Regions from separate parts of the Homo sapiens genome. Here regions 1, 3, 4 and 5 are each linked to region 2. The links are contacts of gene promoters, found by promoter capture Hi-C in human tissues and cell types (Jung and others, 2019). All regions are on one chromosome and are shown on one strand. Each heading gives the region's core, a stretch centred on a gene start or on the middle of the fragment in contact. The rest is flanking DNA. Distances are from core to core; before and after follow the strand shown. Region 1 has its middle 32 kb from the start of LINC01432. Region 2 holds the start of PAX1 (paired box 1). Region 3 overlaps KIZ (kizuna centrosomal protein). Region 4 has its middle 26 kb from the start of LINC01432. Region 5 has its middle 71 kb from the start of LINC01432.

The links. Contacts are between HindIII fragments. The study calls those that stand out against the background at their distance.
Region 1: a fragment that was not itself captured here is called in contact with the fragment with the promoter of PAX1 in region 2 in 1 of the 25 tissues and cell types used here (hippocampus).
Region 3: a contact is called between a fragment that was not itself captured here and the fragment with the promoter of PAX1 in region 2, in 1 of the 25 tissues and cell types used here (stomach).
Region 4: a contact is called between a fragment that was not itself captured here and the fragment with the promoter of PAX1 in region 2, in 2 of the 25 tissues and cell types used here (lymphoblastoid cells and spleen).
Region 5: a contact is called between a fragment that was not itself captured here and the fragment with the promoter of PAX1 in region 2, in 3 of the 25 tissues and cell types used here (aorta, dorsolateral prefrontal cortex and stomach).

The regions. Positions count from the first base shown.
Region 1 is chr20:22,085,177-22,087,928 of GRCh38, forward strand. No RefSeq gene overlaps it. Among named protein-coding and RNA genes, the nearest start is that of LINC01432, 32 kb to the left of the region's middle. The HindIII fragment of the contact is 3,134 bases long and covers 1-2,752 here.
Region 2 is chr20:21,704,218-21,706,917 of GRCh38, forward strand. PAX1 (paired box 1) reads left to right here and starts at 1,447. Exons shown (of 5, transcript NM_001257096.2): 1 at 1,447-1,781; 2 at 2,221-2,700. The coding sequence starts at 1,496. The HindIII fragment of the contact is 9,805 bases long and covers 1-2,700 here.
Region 3 is chr20:21,219,634-21,222,333 of GRCh38, forward strand. All of the region lies in intron 9 of KIZ (kizuna centrosomal protein), which reads left to right. Among named protein-coding and RNA genes, the nearest start is that of KIZ-AS1, 2.7 kb to the left of the region's middle. The HindIII fragment of the contact is 4,951 bases long and covers 1-2,700 here.
Region 4 is chr20:22,026,838-22,029,594 of GRCh38, forward strand. No RefSeq gene overlaps it. Among named protein-coding and RNA genes, the nearest start is that of LINC01432, 26 kb to the right of the region's middle. The HindIII fragment of the contact is 4,150 bases long and covers 1-2,757 here.
Region 5 is chr20:22,124,204-22,126,903 of GRCh38, forward strand. No RefSeq gene overlaps it. Among named protein-coding and RNA genes, the nearest start is that of LINC01432, 71 kb to the left of the region's middle. The HindIII fragment of the contact is 5,203 bases long and covers 1-2,700 here.

The sequences.
Region 1 (2,752 bases), core at 151-2,650, 380 kb after region 2:
AGTCTTGCTAGATGCTTTGCCAGAGACATTTCATTGAAGTGGTGACATTTCTATTCAGCTATCATTAGCAGGACTGAGGGGCATCTAGAGTCATTTCACTTTTCCAATTCTAGTGAAGTCTGAAACTAATTTAGGGTTAAACGAAAAAAGCTTCAAAAAAGGCCAAGAACAAGTATAAGCAGCCATGGGCACAGTGGAGCCAGGTTAGAAGGGAGTCCTAAATTTCAGGACAATAATTAGGAACAACCATTTGTCTTCTAGAGATGTTTTGGGAAACCAAGGTCCTATAGCAGAAAAATTTCTTAGGATTCAGATAAAATCCTGAGTCATCTAGGAACAGAATACTCACACCAGCTTTTCTTATAAAAATGAACACTCCTTCCCTATTGCACTCCCACAGCCTCATGCCCATATCAACAGTTGTCCCAAGTAGGCCTGTGTCAGCTCAGTTCTTGGGTTCTGGTTGTAGGGCTCCCTGAGTCAAATTATAACTCAGTGGGCTTTACTGATTATTGACTCTCCACAATTTGTGGCCTCAGGTGAGGCCTAACTTGAACTAGAGTCACCACCAGCATATTTTTTAAACAGTCCAAGAAGAGGCTAAAAGCTACAGTATGAGGTGACAAATGGAGGTCTTCTTTAATGACCTTCTAGAGTTTCATTTAACTAGGGGATTTCTCAGTCAGTGGCATGAGATCAGAGAGATTTTTGAAGACAAAGTGTAATTAATAGAGTGGGCCATGGACATAAGAGAGAAAGCAACTTCCCAATTTTGTATACTGTGCACTATTTCTGCATATTTATGATGCTTAAGTTAGAGTGCTGAGTGTCAAATTCATATGTAAAAATTTAAACCACATGACCTGTGAATTGGCAAGTTTTTGAAAGAATTCTGTTTAATGTATTTGAATCTCATATATACTTCAGTTTGAAACTCCTGTTGAGTGTTTATTAGTTCTGTTCAGTAAAGTGTTACATGAAGATAAATATTAATTTTCCCTGCAAAAAAGTAGCAAAATATAAACTGTAGATCAAATACTGGCCAATTTGTCAAAAACATTTTTGTGTAAAAGAACATTAAAGCTTAATAGATGAATTGAACAATATAATTGGTTGAATAGTTTCCTTCAAAATAACATAAACACATATGTTGGTAGGAATCACATGAATAACCAAGTATCACATAAAAGCCTTTATAAGATGGGCAAGGTTATGCTATAAATAGTTTAAGATGAGTTTTCCTTTGACGACTCTGTTTTGTTATCTGGTATTAAATAGTTTTTATTCTGTAACTTTGGGTCTGCTCCCTATTACCAAATATTTATTGTGTTTTCACTTAAAGTAAACTTGACTTTAAAAAGAAATCATAAGAAAAAAATTTTGTTTTTGTTGGTTTCTTTTTGTAAATGAATATTTACCCAAATCATAGATTCTCTCTTTGAACTACAGAGGCTTCAAATGGGAGAAATCCTCCAAGCCATGGCATATTTTTATGGTGTAACTACTCACTCAAATGTCTTTCCAAAGTATGTATTATAATAATCATTCACAAATAAATGAATAAATAAACACAAATGCATGCTCATGTAACATGTGTGTATATATTTTGTCCAAGTGTGTGGGACATCTTTTTAAAAAGATTCATGGTTGACTAAGAATGCCCACTTTTTTAGAGCAACTAAAGTTGTAGGCATTTTCTGAGATATAATTTGATTGTCTGACATTCATGATTGCTTCTTTGATGTATTAAATTTGGTTATTTATCTGAAAAATTTAAAAAGACAATAGAATGCTATTCATGAGATGCTCTAATTATGACACATTTACTGAAATGTTTATTAAGCTTATTAAACTAAAATAATTACTGATTACTGTAATACAGCCCACACTAAAATTTTATGTTTCCTTTAACTCAGCAAATAATTTCTAGAATATTATCCCATGAATACTTGTAGAACTTTGATGGTAACACTGTTTATCTCATCCCTAATTATGGAAGCAAAGGGTGAAAATATAAAGGTCCAAAAATAGAGAATTAGTTAGATATTATGTGATAAAAGATAATATTCACAATGCCATATTAAGTAAAAAGTTGGTCGTATGTGCATCAAATAACCAAAAGTAGGTTATTTGCAATTCTTGGAATTGATGTATTCAACGTTCATCTAAATCCCAAATGTAACGAATTGCACCTGCATGTCTGTGTGGATATATATGTATACATATATATGGGTAATTATGTGCATTATATACTTATATATTTAAAAGTAGTATTTATTGTTAATATTGTAAATATTCCCTAACAAAAATGCAAATATTGCTAATAATGTGAAAATCCATGAATACTTCTGGTAGCACACAGAAAACAAGAAAATGAATGGTTGGCACCACTGGAAAATGATGTTTTGTTACCCAAGGACTTGCTGTCATTATGTTTTCTGAGAGAAAATTAATTTTTGTCTTGTACTTACTTATTTTGACTAAATGCTTCCACTGCTTAAAACTCTCTGTGTTCTGAAGCCATGTCTATCTCTAACGTTGACAGAAGCACAGCATGCAGATCTTCATTGCCTTTCCATGCAGTCACCCTTTGCTTTGAAGACATAAGGCAAAAAATGGAGAGAAGCATTTACCTGGGGCCTCAACTACATTAGTCCTAAGGTGGCTGCTTAGGGTCATGTTCTGATTAAGGTGCCCTATATTTATTAACTTGGGCTTTTTTTGGTGTGATATTTGGGGCGTATACTTTAAA
Region 2 (2,700 bases), core at 197-2,696:
GCTGATAGGGTCCATGTGCTCCTCAGCCACTGTCACCGCGCTGGCGCCATACTCAACTCTGGGTGGCTAAGGAGAGCTAGACCCTTGGGGTGGGCAGGAGGGAGGGGAAGAGGGTTCTCTCCTCCAGGGGAGCGCTGGGAGTCTCAGAAACCTCGGCTGTTCCTACTCTCTCCCCTATGCCCTCTTCCTGGTCTAGCACATTCAGCCCAATGCCTTTGGTGCTTACTGGGCTCAACCTCAGAGCTCTCAGATCCTGACCCCCTCAAATCAGTTCATGTTCAAAACCACGAGTTTCCTCCTCTTGGCCCTCACCGCATGGCTCCCGGACACAGTTAGCTGCACAGGTTGGGGAGTTCAGAACTGCTTTGGTGCAGGGTAGAAACAGAGAAATTGTTGATGTTCAATCTCAGGGGTGAATAATTCAGGGCTGCGCAAAACCTCATTTAAATGAAGGAGAAATGACCATTCTGTGGTTTAACAGAGACTTCCTGAAGCTGCAGGTGCTGGGAGAAAGACGAGGCCAGGCCACCTGGGATAGAGTGGTGCGAGATTCCACCGCCAGGGAGAAAGGAACTTGTCCTTCAGACCTAGAGCTGGAGCTATGCATTTGGCCTCCCGCCGGTCGCGCTTGGGGACAGGAGGGCGCCGGATCTATGCGCCCCTTAGCAGCAGATCGGGATCCTTTTGCCTCCTGCCCCTTCTGTCACTGCTTGGAGAGGGATGAGTTCTGGTGGCTGGGCCTGGCTGTAGGAGACAGGATTTGGACCGTGCCCCTCTCGCATCACCGAAATCACCCCCACTATTCCAAGAGTGGTTGGCTATTAAACGTGAAGATTTCCTGAGAGAAGGATTGAGGACCTGGCCAGGAATGGGACACAAGTTCCGCCTTGTGTCTTCCTGACAGGAGCCCTGCACCGCGCTGGACGCTCACCTTGACACTCCCAGCCAGCTGGGGTACTGATCCCACCCTTCCCCGGCCGCTGCCCCGGGAGTGGGGAGGTAGAGAGAGCCACACCCGAAACACCTTTCCACGATAAACTTTTATTCTCTATCTTATTATTAATGGTGGCGGAAATAAAACTAAAACCAAAACGAAAACGAGTACTAGTACTAACACACTAATCAATTTGAGATGACTTCCCCCTCATTCCCAAAGCTAGAGGAGGAAGGGGGCTGAAAGGGGCTCAGAGCAGTGGAAGGTCCCAGGCCCAGCTGGGGTTGGGACGTGTGTGTGTGTGTGTGTGTGTGTGTGTGTGTGTGTGTGTGTGTAGAGGGGTGGGTTCCGGGGGGGTGGTGGAAGAGGGCCGAGGGGGGAGGATAGAAGGAGGGGGTAGAGTTTCAGGGCGGGGAGGGGGGCGCTGGGGCGCAGTGACGGGAACCAATGAGCTGCCAACTCGCGCGTCTCCGGCGTGACTGCCGAGATTGACGTGGAGGACACGTCAAATTGATTCCCGCACGCTGCAGCCTCCCGGTCAGACGAATTTCTCCCAATCGGATGAAGTTCACCCTGGGCCTGGGGTCGCGGGCGTGGAGAGTGTCCTGGGAGGGGGCAGCAGCGGCGGCGGCAGGCCCTGGAGCGGGCGGCAGCGCGCTCCGCTGCCGCGCACAGCGCGTCTCCAGCCCGCGGCTGGGCCGCCGCGGCTCTCGGCTCTCGGGCGCCCTCCCTCTATGCCTCTCACGCGGCGGCGGCGGCGCCCAAGCTCTCCCGGACTGCGCCGGGCCCAGCCCCGGCCACCCCGGCCACCCCGGCGCCAGGCAGCTGGCCGGCCCGCTCGCTATGGGTAAGGGGCGGGCGACAGGCAGGGCTCGGGAGGGCTGATGAGGTGGGTCGGGTCCGCCTGCCTCCCTTCCCTCTCGTCCGCTTTCCCTGGGCGACCCAGTCCTGGGTCCTGGAGAAGCTGCATTCTCCTCTGATCCCCAGCCTTCAGGGGGCAGTTGAGCAAGTCTGGGAAGGGAGTGTTCCAAGTAGACGCGCTAAAAGTCGCGAAAGGGCACGGAGGGCTACAATGCGCCGCGCTCCACTCCGCGGCTCCTCTGCGCCCTTGCCCACTCCAAGCCAGACCCAGGCGGTTTGCCCTTGGACTCCGAGCTGTCTGGGGACCCACAGGTCACCTTTGGAAGTGCGCCTGGGTGCAGTCCCTCGCTCCGCGTGGGGACCCTTGGCTAACCCGCCGGGTGTTTTCTCCCCCTCCGGCTCACTCTTGTCTGGCGCATCCGCAGAGCAGACGTATGGCGAGGTGAACCAGCTGGGCGGTGTGTTCGTCAACGGCCGCCCCCTGCCCAACGCCATCCGCTTGCGCATTGTGGAGCTGGCGCAGCTGGGCATCCGACCCTGTGACATCAGTCGGCAGCTCCGCGTATCCCACGGCTGCGTGAGCAAGATCCTGGCGCGCTACAACGAGACCGGCTCCATTCTGCCCGGGGCCATCGGGGGGAGCAAGCCCCGCGTCACCACTCCCAACGTGGTCAAGCACATCCGGGACTACAAGCAAGGAGACCCTGGCATCTTTGCCTGGGAGATCCGCGACCGGCTGCTGGCCGACGGCGTCTGTGACAAGTACAATGTGCCTTCGGTGAGCTCCATCAGCCGCATCCTGCGCAACAAGATCGGCAGCCTGGCGCAGCCCGGACCGTACGAGGCAAGTAAGCAGCCGCCGTCGCAGCCTACGCTGCCCTACAACCACATCTACCAGTACCCCT
Region 3 (2,700 bases), core at 80-2,579, 480 kb before region 2:
GAGCATTGTGGAAGGAATTATTGCTTCTGTGACCCCTGACATTCCTTCTAATGCCAAGGGACTGTGCTTCTTCCTCTATGCTAATGGAATCCAGTGTGCCAGCATTCTCATCTCTTCATTTCCCTTTCTCATTTGCTTATCACCACAAAACGGAGGTCTTCTTGGCTGGGGCTCCTCCTTAAAGAGTCTGCTATCACTTTGAAGGCATCTGCTTTGCTAATCGTTATTATGGAGCATGCGAGTTTTCTGTGTTTAGATTTACATAGAAACCCTCCTGGGCACACACTGATGCCCCACCCACAAACACAGAGTCAGTATTCCATAGCCTGTATGATCTGTTGTTGTGAATATAATCTACCCCTTTTATTAGTCTAGTTGTTGTTCACTAAAGAATCCAGGTGGAAATCAAAGATGAATTTTTATATCTATAAATGTATGGTTTTCTGTATATAATAAGTAGTATATAATTAGATGTATTGATACAATATATATTAGTTATATATTATATATCATATATCATTATAGATGATTATATATAAAATCCTTAATTATATTAGTTAATAAAATTAATATTTTTACGTGGGCTGAATCCTGGGATACCAGAAACCACAAAAGATGGTATCCCTGCCCTCACTAAGCCTCCCTCATCTCTAACCTTTACAACAGTCCTATAGGGTAAACATTAGTACTCACCCTACAAGTGGTCAGACAGAAACTTAGAAAGGTATCCTGCTCAAGGCCATGTAGCTGGTGTGTTTGATCTTGAATTGAACTCAGACTTTAGGATTTGGGCTCTTGAACTCCTTCCATTTCACTGCCCTGCCTCTTTTATTTATTTTGTTTTTTTATTATTTATTTATTTATTTTTGAGACAGAGTCTCACTCCATCACCCAGGCTGGAGTGCGGTGGCACGATCTTGGCTCAGTGCAACCTCTGCCTCCCGGGTTCAAGCGATTCTCGTGCCACAGCCTCCTGAGTAGCTGGGATTACAGGCATGTTCCACCAAGCCTGGCTAATTTTGTATTCTTAATAGAGACGGTTTTGCCCCGTTTGCCAGGCTGTACTCGCATCCTGGCCTAAAGATACCCACCCACCTTGGCCTCCCAAAGTGCTGGGATTACAGGCGTGAGCCGCCACGCCCGGCCTACCCTGCCTTTTTTATTTTACCAAAAAGACAACTGCATCAGGATGTCCGGATCAATTAAACATCAGTGTACATCATAACAGAAGATGGGCTTTGCAAGGCTGCTTCTGAGAGCAATGATAAACAAAGCTTGCCTTTCCTTTCTCTTGGGTTAGGCCTGGAGAGGTGGGCAGCATGCAAGGATTTTCAAATGCAGCTCATCCCGAGAGGCAGGCCTTTTATAAAGTGGGGCAAACCTGAGCCCAGCTGGGCTGCTGGGAGGTCGGTTTCCCTGAAACACTTCCTGACCTACTATGTAGGTCAGTTTGCCTGAAACACTCAGGCCATGAGGAAAGTGATGCTTATCTAGATTGGGAGAGAAAGTCTGCCTTTTGAACTACTTACATCCGCAAAGTGAAAATTTCCCACATTGACAATTTTATTTGTATTCACACTAAATTTACCTTTCAGCATTAAGTGAGTTTTAGCTTTAGCAGATGATGCAGCTATGCTAAATGTCATAAAAATACAGCACCTAGCACAGTATCTGGCACAGAGTGGGCACTTAATTTGTCAAATGAATAAAAATGGGGATATTAAGGAATTTTCTTAAATGCTTGATGATTCAGGATAGAATACTATCTCTTTCAGTCATGCACTCCACCAATACTTTTCCCACCCCACGTGCCCATCCTGGCAAAACTAGTCTCCTTAAGCTCCATGTGAAAAGGGCTCTCAGCTTTTATCTCAAGAGGATTAAGCCTCTAAGAATGTCCATTCAGACTCTCATTCTTTTGACACCAATTCTCTTGGTCAAGCTGTGTTGAAAGTGGTTGCCTGACTGTGCCATTCCTCGTGGATATTCTTTGGCAAGCTGAAATATGCAGGGTAATACTAAGACATCCATTTAGAGTCTTTCCAGGAGGTCAGTATAGATTTGGAGGGTGCCACTTGGAGTTCTAGGCAGTGCTTCCCAAAACATGATTGCTTGAGTTTTACATCAATTTGGAAAAGGGCTGGAAAGATATAGTGGCTAGGTTGTCACTGGTGACTGGATTTATCCTGGGAGGAAAGACTGTAGTGATGACTTTGGGCTCCCAAAGCACAGTGGCATAACACCACTAGTACTGAGGTTTTACCGAGAATGTGCTTCACCTGTCCTATCCCAAAGCATTTTCCTGACAAGACTCAGTCAAGACATATTACCTGTTGTGCCTGGAACGGGAAACCCCCAGCTTGTGCAAAACCAGGGGAACCACTGTGTGTTGCTGGATTGTCCATTGAAAGTCCACGTGGCCCTGTCTCTGTGCCAGGGGTCAGCCTGCTGGGGCTTCACCCATGGAGCCTGCTGCCTGCTACTTGCGGTAGCAAAACAGTCCTCATTATATTGCAGGGCAGTGCTGTTTATTTAACATGGTCATTAAAGGATAAAAGGTACTTTTCTGAAGGGTCTTCTGGACTGGATGCTTCTATATTCAGAGAGATGAACTCATAAATGCCAAGAGAAATTCTCCCCAGCGGTTCATGGTAGAATCCCATGTAGAGTTTTAGAACATACCCATGCCCCAGCCACACC
Region 4 (2,757 bases), core at 98-2,597, 320 kb after region 2:
ATTTCCAGGCAGTGGGTAAGCAGTGCTGAGAACTTGCCCCGGGCTACCAGCCTCCCAGCTGAGAGAGCAGGCAAGGCTTTTGCGCTTCCCTGCCTGTTGAGTCTGCCCACAAGATTCACGCCATCCACTGAGTTCTGGTCAGGAAGCTTCATGTTTGGTTGGAATTATTACCAAGTTTGTCTAGAGGTTTCCTTCTCCCTGTGGTCTTTTCCAAGTTCCCCTGGTAGCCCTCCCCAAGGACGCCTATGAGACAAGTCAGAAATGGCTTCCCTGGGGACCCAGAAATCCCACGGGGCTTTTCCTGCTGCTTCCTCTACCCTGTATTTTGCTCAGCTCTCTAAATTGTCTCAGCTCCAGGTAAGGTCAAATCCTTCGCCTGTGATCTGGCCTTTCAGGTTTCCCAGTGAGGGTGTGTGTTTGGGGGTGGACAATCTCCCTTTCCCACTTTCACAGTTTGGGAACTCACAGTATTTGGGCTGTCTCTCAGGTCCTGCAGAAGTAATCTGCTTTCTTCAAAGGGTTTGTGGATTTTCTTGGCTTTCCTGGTATATTCCTGCAGTAGTTCTTGGAGCAAAACTTCATGATGTGAGTCTCCACACTCTGCTCTGCAATTTAGGGAGCTGCAATTTAGTCCTGCCTCCTATCCACCATATTTTCCTCTGCTGTCCAAGAATGTGAATTTTACCACTTTCAATGCCCCATCAATTTTGTCTGACTAGTGTTTGACTGATAGCTGCATAAATTTCATCCTGTCTCCACGACACCAACAGAAAAATGGTGGTGAAAACTGCAGAGTAGACAAAAACAAAAACAAAACAAAAAACTATTATAAAGCCATTAAATCATCTTTAAAGCTTGCAGTAGTTTTACTCCTGTAGATTTTTCTAATACCAAAAAGACTACATGCTTATTTCTTTGTTGGGTTGTTGCTTTGACACTTCTGGTAGCTTATTAGGTGGGGATGGAAGATAGTCAAAGGTCAAGACCACAGTGTTGACACTCATGAAGGCTGGTGAGCAATGCTCTGTGGCTGGGTCAGTCAAATAGTGCAGCAAACAGAGAAAACCAGGTTAACCCTGGGGCCATGATACCAGAGGTCCATCAGTGAAATTTTTAAATAGAATTTTTAAAGGAAAAGTGCACAAATCACTAGTTTACAGCTCAATGCATTTTCACAAGTCGAATAGTCGAATACTCTTGCATAACCCGCACCTAAATTAAGAGACAGAATCTCATCAGCCCCCAGAAGCACCATCACCTCTGCCGTCTTCCAGACAGAGCCCTCCAAATAGTAACCACTATCTTGACTTCTAATATGTGGATTAGCTTTGCTATTTATACAGTATATATCCTTCGTATAAGGCTCTTGTTACGCAACAGGTTGTGAATTTCATCCACTTTGTTGTAGGTAGTTGGAGTTCATTCATGCTCATAGCCGTATAGTATTCAATTTTATTACTATAGCACAATATCTTTATTTATTTTACTATTGATCAACTTTTGGGTATTTTCTAGTTTGCAGTCATTTCAAATAATCCTGAAATAAGTCCTCTTATGTTTTTTTTTTTTGTTGGAACATACATATTTTGTTCTGCTGAGATATAGGGTACGTGTATGTTTTGCTTTAACTAATACTGACAAATAGTTTAGTTTTTCAAAATGTTTTGGATCCATTTTTACTCCCACATTTGGCAAATAATTTATTCATGAACAATGCAAATGAAAATTTTTTCTCAGTTGAGCTGTTGTGAAATTATTACACAAAACATTTTGAAGGTTATCAATTGTAATGTGAGAGCCAAAACCACGTGTGTGCAGGCCCATCTTTCTGGTTGGGGATTATACTATTTGATATAAATCACCTCAAGAAATAGCCGTAGATGAGAGAAATAAACATTTTAATTGTTCTTATAATGAATGATAAGTGAAGGGAACTATAACCTCAATTGCAAATGTTAACATTTACAAGATGACCTGTTTATAAATGTAGCTCTGCCTTATACATGTGCTCACATCCATTTTGAAGTATCCAACCAGAGCGCTGATAGATTAGTAGTTTTGTGAGCTCTAGCTGACAATCCCTGAGCAAATCTGGTGAATTTATCAGCAGCCTTGCAGGACAGAAAGAAGGAAAAAAGATAACAGATGACTGTGCTAAACAGACGTAATACATACCAAGGGTGGTAGTCTCTTGGGCAGACATCTTTGTGATTACTTACCATGTCCACTTCCATCACAAAGTTCTGTCATCCAGATATAGTTGGAAACAACCTCCTCTGTGGCTATAGAGTAGCTGTACTTCTCTTGTGTATAATTAAGTGGTGGTTGATAACAGTAACATTACATTTATTGGGTGCTTACCAGGTACCTGGCTTGTGCTAAGTGCCTTACCTATGTGTGCTTAGGAACTAGCATTATCCTCATTGTGCAGCGAAGCAAGTAGTGGGCTAATAGTGAAGTTCAGCAAATTTTCTGAAGATCCTGCAGCCATTTAAAAGAAAGATGAGACCAGAAACGAGGCCAGTGTAACTCCATTGTTCAAGTTTTACGGCCACAGACTCTATGTGGATGCAGGAGGGCTTGGGGGTAGACTGAGAGGTGGGAGGGAGGAGTGCAGCCTGGACATTATTTCAGAAAGCAAGCTAACATTAAAAGGTTAAAAACAAAATTTTGATTGAGTATATTATGAAATGGAAAAACTTTTGGGATTCTTAAAGTTTGACAAAGCTTCATAAAAAAGATATTAACAAAGAGCTT
Region 5 (2,700 bases), core at 38-2,537, 420 kb after region 2:
AAAGATTGCTACCCTAATGAAATTTATGTTTAATTAGTGCAGACAGACAATAAAGAAAATTGTGTGTGTTTGTGGTGGGGGCGGGGGTTAGATGGAAGTCATAAATGTTATGAAAGAAAAATAAAAGAAATGGGATACAAGGATAAGGAGAAGACTTAGGTAAGTTGTACTTTAAAATAAAGTGGTCAGACATACATCACTTCAAAATGAACATTTGCATAAAAGTATAAAGAGTTTGAGGGAGTAAGATGCATGGATTCTGGAGACAACATGTGAACATGTCCTGCAGAGTCATCATAGTTGGCATGCTGGAGGAACAAGAAAAAGGTCCATGAGGGTGGGGTAGAGTAAAATGAGCAAAGGAGAAAGTATTGTGCAAAAAGGTCAAGATAACAGGGACAGAGAGACGTGATAGGGACATGGGCATATTGTATGCTGAGTGGGGGAAAAAACCCCAGGAGCGTTTTTGTTCTGCTTTGTTTAGCTATCTTAAAATGTAAGCAATTTTTAGAATAGTCTTAGATTTATAGCAGTGTTGCAAATCTACCGTAGAGAGTTCCCATATAATGTTCACCCAGTTTCTTTTGTTGTTAACATTTTATGTTACAATGATAAATTTGTCAAAAGTAATGAAACAACATCAGTGTATTATTATTAAATAAACTCCACAATTAATTCAAATGTTACTAGTTTTTCCCATGTCCTTTTTATGTTCCAGTATTCCATCCAAGATACCACATTGCATTGAGTTTTCATGTGTTCTTAGTCTCCTCTGAACTTTGATAGTTTCTCAGATTTTCACTGATTTTAATGACCTTGTCAGTTCTCATGTATACTGGTCAGAATATCGTATATCCTACTATTTGGGTTTCTCTGATATTTTTCTCATGTTTAGATGGGCTTTGCGGAGAGAATATTCACCACAAAATACATAAAATTAGAACACAAATATAATAGTCAAAACACCCTTGAGAAATTATAAGACTCATTTCTTCAAAAATTATTAAACAGTAAATCTAAGGAAATGTTATAAAATATTTAAAACAGACTGCTGTATATTAGAACCAATAGTATGCACCCTTAAGCTGTAATTAAGGGACAAATTTATGATTAATTAACTAATATTCAAATCCAAAAGGTGAAAAAAAGGAACAATACAAAATCTAAACCAAATAGAAAGAAGGAAATAAAAATAAAAGACAAAAGTAATTAAGTGGCAAATAAAAAGTAGAGTGGATCGTTAAGACTAAACACTATTTTTAAAGACCAGTATAACAGACAAATGTTTTGATGGTGAAAGAGAGTGAGAGTGAGAGAGAGAAAGTGAGTGAGAAATAATATAAACAAACAATATCAGGAAAAAATAATGGAGCACAAACATATAATGAAGTATTTTAGAAACTATGAATTGATATGAACAACTGTATGCCAGTAGGTTAAAAGCCCATGCAATGGACAATTTTCTAGGAAAGTGTAAATGCCATGATTAGTCTTCACAACCATAAAACAAGTATTAATACAAATTGAAATGGTAATCAGTATCTTATTCCCAAAGGCATCAGACCCACATGGTTTTTCCAGTAACTTTCAGCACCAATTCAATAAACATATATGTCTCATTATAGCTTAACTGAAAAAAAGTGAAGCCACGCAAGTCATTTTATAAGGATTGAATAATACTGTTAGGAAAACTAGAAAAGGAAAACACAAAGATGCACTTCTTTGTTTCAAAACTATAAATACAACAAAAATTATTTCATTGTTGGTTTCACTTCAGGGAAATGCTGATTCATCTTTGTGTGTAATACAAATTCAATTTGTGGTTAATAAAGGTTAATAAAGGGGACTATAATTTTAAAAGCACAATAAGCCAATATAATATTCCCAATTTACTTCTTCAACACTTGGCCTGCAGTTATAACTATTTAAAAAGTGAACATTAAGGCAAAGATTTCTTTCTACATGTTGGAGGAGCATTGAAGAAGAAATAAACATTTCCTCATTTTTGCTTAGTAAGCACATTGAGACACCAAGGTGGGTGGATCACCTGAGGTCAGGAGTTCGAGACCAGCCTGGCCAACATGGCAAAATGCCGTCTCTACTAAAAGTACAAAAATTAGCCAGGCGTGGTGGTGCATGCCTGTAATCCCAGCTACTCAGGAGGCTGAGGCAGGAGAATTGCTTGAACCTGGGAGGCGGAGTTTGCAGTGAGCTGAGATTGCACCACTGCACTCCAGCCTGGGCAACAAGAGTGAGACTCTGTCTCAAAAAAAAAAAAAAAAAAGCAAGGTAAATCTTATTATTTTCCTTCCTTCAACTGGCTATGAACTTGTTTTAATTTATTACCACTGATTTGAAACAACCTTATCATAAAAGTTCCCAGTTGTACCTGCATCTATTTATTCACTCTTTTCTATGGATAGGACCATCTGTTCTGATCATTACACACACTTATCAATTATGAATCCTTTCAGATGACTACAATGCCATTTTCTTTCCCTCACAAAACAAGAAGTCAAAACATAAATGGTTGCTGATGCTCTTTCTTTAGTTTATTTCTGTAAAAAATAAATTCTCTGAGATTCTTATGATGTTTTCAATATGGCAATAAGCTGGCCATTATGCCCTTGTTCAAGGCAAGAAGAGAGAGAGAGGGCAAGAGCACTCTCTGCATGCTCCCACAGCTGACCCCTGCAGCTG